2 separate regions of the Homo sapiens genome follow, and region 1 is linked to region 2. The links are contacts of gene promoters, found by promoter capture Hi-C in blood cells and fetal thymus (Javierre and others, 2016). All regions are on one chromosome and are shown on one strand. Each heading gives the region's core, a stretch centred on a gene start or on the middle of the fragment in contact. The rest is flanking DNA. Distances are from core to core; before and after follow the strand shown. Region 1 overlaps OSBP2 (oxysterol binding protein 2). Region 2 holds the start of RNF185 (ring finger protein 185).

What was found. The method cuts DNA at HindIII sites, captures the fragments that hold promoters and counts their contacts. A CHiCAGO score of 5 or more calls a contact.
Region 1: a fragment that was not itself captured here is called in contact with the fragment with the promoter of RNF185 in region 2 in 1 of 17 cell types (M1 macrophages); the score reaches 5.1 in M1 macrophages.

The regions. Positions count from the first base shown.
Region 1 is chr22:30,757,584-30,760,945 of GRCh38, forward strand. All of the region lies in intron 2 of OSBP2 (oxysterol binding protein 2), which reads left to right. Among named protein-coding and RNA genes, the nearest start is that of MIR3200, 28 kb to the left of the region's middle. The HindIII fragment of the contact is 7,351 bases long and covers 1-3,362 here.
Region 2 is chr22:31,158,871-31,162,388 of GRCh38, forward strand. It overlaps RNF185 (ring finger protein 185), which reads left to right and starts at 1,312. Exons shown (of 7, transcript NM_152267.4): 1 at 1,312-1,433. It overlaps MIR3928 (microRNA 3928), which reads right to left and starts at 1,249; the gene lies at 1,192-1,249. The HindIII fragment of the contact is 23,924 bases long and covers 1-3,518 here.

The DNA.
Region 1 (3,362 bases), core at 404-2,903, 400 kb before region 2:
ATTTTTGTATTTTCGGTAGAGACAGGGTTCCACCATGTTGGCCAGGCTGGTCTCAAACTCCTGACCTCAAGTGGTCTGCCCGCCTCGGCCTCCCAAAGTGCTGGGATTACAGACATGAGCCACTGCACCCAGCCTTATTGCTGTTTTGTCACTCCTGTAGCCTCAACCTCTCTCCTGGCCTCTTCCCACTGCATATGACCCACCACTCACTACTTTGAAACTGTACTAGCCAAGGTCTCAGGTCACTTTCCAGACCTGGCAGATGACTAAGAAGTGAACCTGGGTGTCACCTTGAGTCCTGCCCTCCCTGATCCCTCATGTGCAGCTTGTCAGCAGATCCTGTCAGTGCCAGACCTGAGCACTTTCACATCTGCCCACTGCCCTCCATCTGCCTGGCCTCCAACCCAGTTTCACTATCTGACCTCCCAGAGTCTGGACAGCAAGAGTGAGTCTTTTAAAATCCAATTCTGCTCAGTTCCAGTTCCAGGTAGGATTAAGTGAGAAGGTTTCACTCTGCAGCTATGAAACATGGACAGGGCCAGGCACAGTGGCTCATGCCTGTAATCCGTGCACTTTGGAAGCCTGAGGCAGGCCGATCACTTGAGGCCAGGAGTTCGAGACCGGCCTGGCCAACATGGTGAAACCCCATCTCTACTAAAAATACAAAAATTAGCCGGGTGTGGTGGCGCACGCTTGTAGTCCAGCTACTGGGGAGGCTGAGGTGTGATAATCACTTGATCCCGGGAGGAAGAGGTTGCAGTGAGCCGAGATGGCACCACTGCATTCCAGCCTGGGTGACAGAGCGAGACTCTGTCTCAAAAATAAAATAAAATAAAATGTGGACAGAATGCACAGAGCAGCTATTTGAGCACCCTGAAAATTAAGTAGCCACAAGCAGACTAGAGAAGACCAGAATCTGAGGTAACACCAAACAGGTGGTGAGGTTACAATTTTTTCCCTCCAGTATCTTCTAGAGTGGACTCAGGGGAGACCCAGAAGTGAGCAGACAGAGAAAACTCCTGGAGAAGCCCTCTAGTTCAGGCTCAAGGAGGAAAGGGTCCCCTGTCAGTGATAGCAGTGGCGATGAGAGGCCTGCAGGTACCAAAAACTCAGAGGAATCCATGCACACCAGTAGGAAGAGCTCTGGGCCCAAGAAGTGAGGGAACCCCTGTTCCATTTTTCTCTCACTCTTCCTACCACTTAGCCCCCGATATAGGTGTGGTGGTGGGAAGTGGGCAGCCAGAGGACTGAAACAGAGCCCAAGAGAACCAGAAAAAAACAGGAAATCACAGAAAGAGAACACCTTGGGAAAGTGACCCCATAACGTTGTTTTCATGAACTCCTGGCTTCACGTTCAAGCCGCACATGGATGGATCTGATCCTAAACAGCATACTAAAGATTTTGAGAACTGAACTTAAAGCTGCATGAATACCCACGTCCCTGTGGCCACTGGCTGGCACACATGTGGAACAGATCCAACTAGTACTGCAAAGGGCCGGGCGCAGTGTAACCTGGCACTTTGGGAAGCCGAGACAGGTGGATCACTTGAGGCCAGGAGTTCGAGACCAGCCTGGCCAACACGGTGAAACCCCGTCTCTACTAAAAATACAAAAATTAGCCAGGCGTGGTGGTGCACACCTGTAATCCCAGCTACTCGGGAGGCTGAGGCAGGAGAATCGCTTGAGCCTGGGAGGCAGAGCTTGCAGTGAGCCGAGATTGCACCACTGCACTCCAGAGCAAGACTCTGTCTCAAAAACAAAAACAAATAGTACTGCAAAGGCTTTGAAAATGGAACAAACAGTGAAACCACCACCCAGAGACGGCTGGTCACTACCTGTGGCCTTAACCCAACTTATTTGATAGACTGCTAAAATGAAAATATCAAATTACCAACATCAGGAATGAAATAAACAATTAATAGCACTAACAAACATAAAAGGACAATACTACAAAAACATAAAATAGATACATAATACATAAAAGGAATGCTACAGACAACTCTGCTGACAAATTTGACAACTTGGATGAAATGAACCAATTCTTCAAAAATCAAATTCTAACACTTGCCCAAGATCAAATCCATAAACTGAATAATCCTATAACTATTAAAGAAGTTGCATTCATAGTTTAAAACACTTCAAAAAAGAAGTCTTCAGGCCTACATGATTTCACAGGTAAATTTTATCAAATATTTGAAAAAAGAATAACACTATTTCCACACAATCTCTTCCAGAAAACAGAAGAGGAATGAGTAATTTCTTTTCTTTTTTAATTTTTCTTTTCTTTTTTTTTTGAGACAGTGTCTCGCTCTGTTGCCCAGGCTGGAGTGTGCAGTGGTGCAGTCTTGGCTCACTGCAACCTCTGCCTCCCAGGTTCAAGCAGTTCTCCTCCCTCAGCCTCCTTAGTAGCTGGGATTACAGGCATGTGCCACCACGCCCAGCTAATTTTTTTTTTTGTATTTTTAGTAGAGACAGGGTTTCACCATGTTGGCCAGGGTCATCCTGAACTACTGACATCAGGTGATCCGCCTGCCTTGGTCTCCCAAAGTGCTGGGATTACAGGCGTGAGCCACTGCACCCGGCTTTTTTTTTTTTTTTGAGACAGAGTCTTGCACTGTTGCCCAGGCTGGTCTCAAACTCCTGACCTCAAGTGATCTGCTCGCCTTGGCCTCCCAAAGTGCTAGGATTACAGGAGTGAGTAATTTCTAACTCATTTATAAGGACAGCATACCCTGATACCAAACTGAACAAAGATAGTGTAAGAAAAGAAAACTTCGGACCAATATTTCTCATGAGCATAGATGAAAACATCTTCAACAAAATATTAACAATTTGAAACCAGCAATACAATAGAATATTACACCATGATCAAGTGGATTTCATGCTAGGAGTGCAAGATGAGTGCAAGATAGGTGCAAGATAGGTTCCATGTTTGAAAATCAATAAATGGGGCTGGGGGCAGTGGCTCACACCTGTAATCCCAGCACTTTGGAAGGCCAATGCAGGCAGATCACTTGAAGTCAGGAGTTCAAGAGCAGCTTGGCCAACATGGTGAAACCCTGTCTCTACTGAAAATACAAAAATTAGCCAGGCATGGTGGTGCACACCTGTAGTCTCAGCTACTTAGGAGGCTGAGTCAGGAGAATCGCTTGAACCCTGGCAGGGCGGAGGTTGCAGTGAGTGGAGATCGCACCACTGCACCCCAGCCTGGGCAACAGAGCAAGACTCTGTCTCAAAAAAAGAAAAAAAAAAGAAAATCAATATAAATGGAATCATAATATTAACAATCTAAGAAAAACTACATTATAATATCAATTGATACAGAAAAAGGCATTTGACAAAATTTAACATTATTCATGGTA
Region 2 (3,518 bases), core at 62-2,561:
TCAGTATGTGATTTGATACAATATGTATTAACAGCTAATCCACAATCCATATTCAAATTTCATTACTTGTCCCAATATTGTCCATTACAACTATTCCACCACCACCACTACCCCAGTCCAGGGTCCTATTTAGAATCACACACCACATTTTGTTGTCATGCTTCTTTAGTCTCCTTTAAACTGGAACAGTTCCTCAGCTTTTCTCTGTTTTTCATGACAATGAGTTATTTTGTAGACAGTGTCCTTCATTTGGGGTTCTCTAGCACTTCCTCATGAGATGTGTACGGTGCACTTTTGACAGAAATACCACAGATGTGTTCTCAGTGCATTTTATTAGGAGGCCCTTGATCTGACCCATTAACTAGTGGTGTTAACTTTGATCACTTTGATCTGTTTGTTCTGCTAGGTTAAACCTCTGTAACATCACCATTTTCCCTTTGTAATCAATAGCTAATTTATGGGAGACACTTTTGCTGTTGTAAACATCCCGTTTCTCTAGTTTTACCACACATTATTGATTTCCTAATTCCACCATGTTTATTAGCTAGCATTCTACTAAAAGGAAGACTTTCCCTTCACCCATTAATATGCTCACTTCTTTATGTTTGTAAAGACTCATGGATTACTATTTTATTCAATTAGTTATACTCTATTACTATCACTCCATATTTTGATTCTGAAATTGCCCTGACTTGGCCAGTAAGATCTCCTTAAAGACAGCTCCTGTGTTCTTTGACACATTCCCATGATTCTTATTACCATCATCCTTATATTCTGGTGTAACAAGATGTTCCAAGTTTATCTGGTACTTTCCGGAATGAGTTAGTTCTTTCTCTCTCTCTTTTTTTTTTTTTTTTTTGACGGAGTCTCACTCTGACGCCCAGGCTAGAGTGCAGTGGTGCGATCTCAGCTCACTGCAACCTCCGCCTCCCGGGTTCAAGCGATTATCCTGCCTCAGCCTCCCGAGTAGCTGGGATTACAGGTGTGCGCCACCACGACCGGCTACTTTTTGTATTTTGAGTACAGAGGGGTTTCACCATTTTGGCCAGGCTGGTCTCGAACTCCTGACCTCAAGTGATCCATCCGCCGCGGCCTCCCAAACTGCTGGAATTACAGGTGGGAGCCACCGCGCCCGGCCGGAATCAGTTTTTTTCTTTTAGGAGCCCCGAACCCAAAGCTCTTTGAAAAGCTGCCGAAGCTCCAAGGTTCCTCCGCTTCCTGCCCGCAGGCGGAACCTTAGAGCTTCAGCCATGGAAATTAACCTCTTCCGGTTGGGGCCGGAAGTCCCTCCGAGAGGGGCGGCTCCGCGTCATGTGACTGGAGTCCGCGTAGGAGGGGTCGGAGGTCTTACCCAACAGATTGACGCGGCGTTAGTATTGGCCGTGTACCCGAAAAACTGATTGACTGGGCTGGCGTTAACTGTGCGGAGGCAGGTATGTGAGGGGCTGGGGTTGGGGCGGGGGCGCCAAAGTTTAGGGACGGGGGCGGGAGACCCGGGTCCGCCTTCCCAGGACACACGGGCTTGAACATCTGAGCCCAGGGGCCCAGAGACAGCAAGACCGGTCGTGTCTGTCCCCGAAAAGAGGACGAGCTGGCGTTGTGGTTCTGCGTCCCATGAATACAGATTGGGGAAACTGAGGCCTTGCGAAAGAGAAGGGCTCCCACAAGCTCTCCTTTCGAGGCATGGGCACTGATTCCCATTCTATCCCCCGTGCGAGACCGCCTCTATCATCTGGGAGTGCATTTCACGAGTTTGCCCTGAGTGGAGAAGCAGAGGCCGGGGAGCGCGGTGAACAGAGTTGGGCTGAAAGTAAGAGACCTGGATTCGAGACTTCGCCACCGACAGACAATTGTGCGTTCTGGGCCAAATCTCTTCCCTGTGCTGGGCCTCAGTTTTCTCGTCTCTAAAACGGGGCAGTGTTTTTCAAAATATGGTTCTTACACCATCTGCTTTGTAATTCTCTGAGATGCCGGCTTTACAGCGCGGGACTCAATTCAGACTTCTGGTTTAGAATCTGAACTTATGCGTAGGGGGGTCCTGTATATACTAATGTTTGAAGCTCATTGATTTTAAGTGCTTTCCTGCTGTGAGCACTAGATATCCATTCTTCGCTTTGAGGCAGCTGGTGCCAGTTCAGGAACTTTGAAAGAACTGGAATGGTTAGCTCAGTAAAGAGAGCACTGGAAGGGAATTAACTTTTTAAAAATTGAAAATACTGTTACGGCAAAGAGGGCTTCCACTTCATCTTTAGGCTAAAAGAGGCAGAACTAGGACTAACAGGTGAATTCTACAGGAAGGCAAGATTTTTGCTTAATAGAAGAACTTAAATGGAAGAATCGTCAGAGGTGACCACCGATGGAGTGAATGGATTGCCTCCGTGCCTCCTTTCGAGGGAGGTATATAGGTATTAGATGAAGGTCCTTTCCAACTTGAAAGTCTGTGATTCCAAGGAGTTGTTCTGCATCTTTCTGGTGCTGACTCTGCTCTCAAGGCAAATGTGACTTTTTTCTTCTCTTTTGACACTTCCATCACTTTAGCCTACATCTCCTGTAAATAAGGCCAATGCATCTGACCTTACATAATCTCTTCCTGGTTGTCCTGTGCACCATCCTTCTTTTCAAGGACTTTGGAATGACCCAATATCTGATAGAGGCACCTTAAATGTTTATTGAATGAATAAGTAAACTGGGTCCCACCCCATGGGTTAGTAGCTTTTTTCTAAGAACAAGTTGGAAATGCCTCTGAAGATTTTATGTTTGACCAGGAGAAGCCAGTGAACTCTGAATCACAAAATTGAGGACTCTCAGTTGAAAGCACCCCTTGAGGTTGTTCAGACCAGCCTTCTCTTCCCTGGAACATAATCCCTGCTTGAATCCTCTCTTCAGCAATATGTGTATAGATGTGAGAGAATTTTTGCAGTCTGTTGGCTAGCTTTCCATGCATCATATAAAAACAGTCCTCTTATAGACTTGACTTGCCAGTTCACACACATGACAAGTTCCAGCTTTTTTTTTTTTTTTTTTGAGTATTTAGTAGAGATGGGGTTTCACCATGTTGGCCAGGCTGGTCTCGAACTCCTGACCTCAAGTGATCCGCCTGCCTCAGCCTCCCAAAGTGCTGGGATTTCAGGTGTAAGCCACTGTGCCTGGCCTCTAGCATACCTTTGGTTTTCTAATCAAACATTATTATGTCCTTATTTTGTGCATTACAAAGCTCTGCCTAAATCACTTTTTCAACACCTGCTAGAATGCTTAGGAATGTTTATGTTGTCTTAGGGAGCAGAGGCTCCATATTATGACCCAGTTCTGCTGACTTGCTCCCCCGCCGCCACAAAAGTTAGGGTTGAGCCAAAACTTCCTGCCAGTTATCGACTTGTGTTTCCCAAGATTAAAAAATAAAAAAGTTGTGAAATGCTTATTCAGATGTTATCCAGGTACTGGGTAAAATGATCTTAATTTGTTGGAGTTTTTAGAACTTCTCGATCTAAAAGTTTCCTTTTAAAGAAGTGTCTGAATTG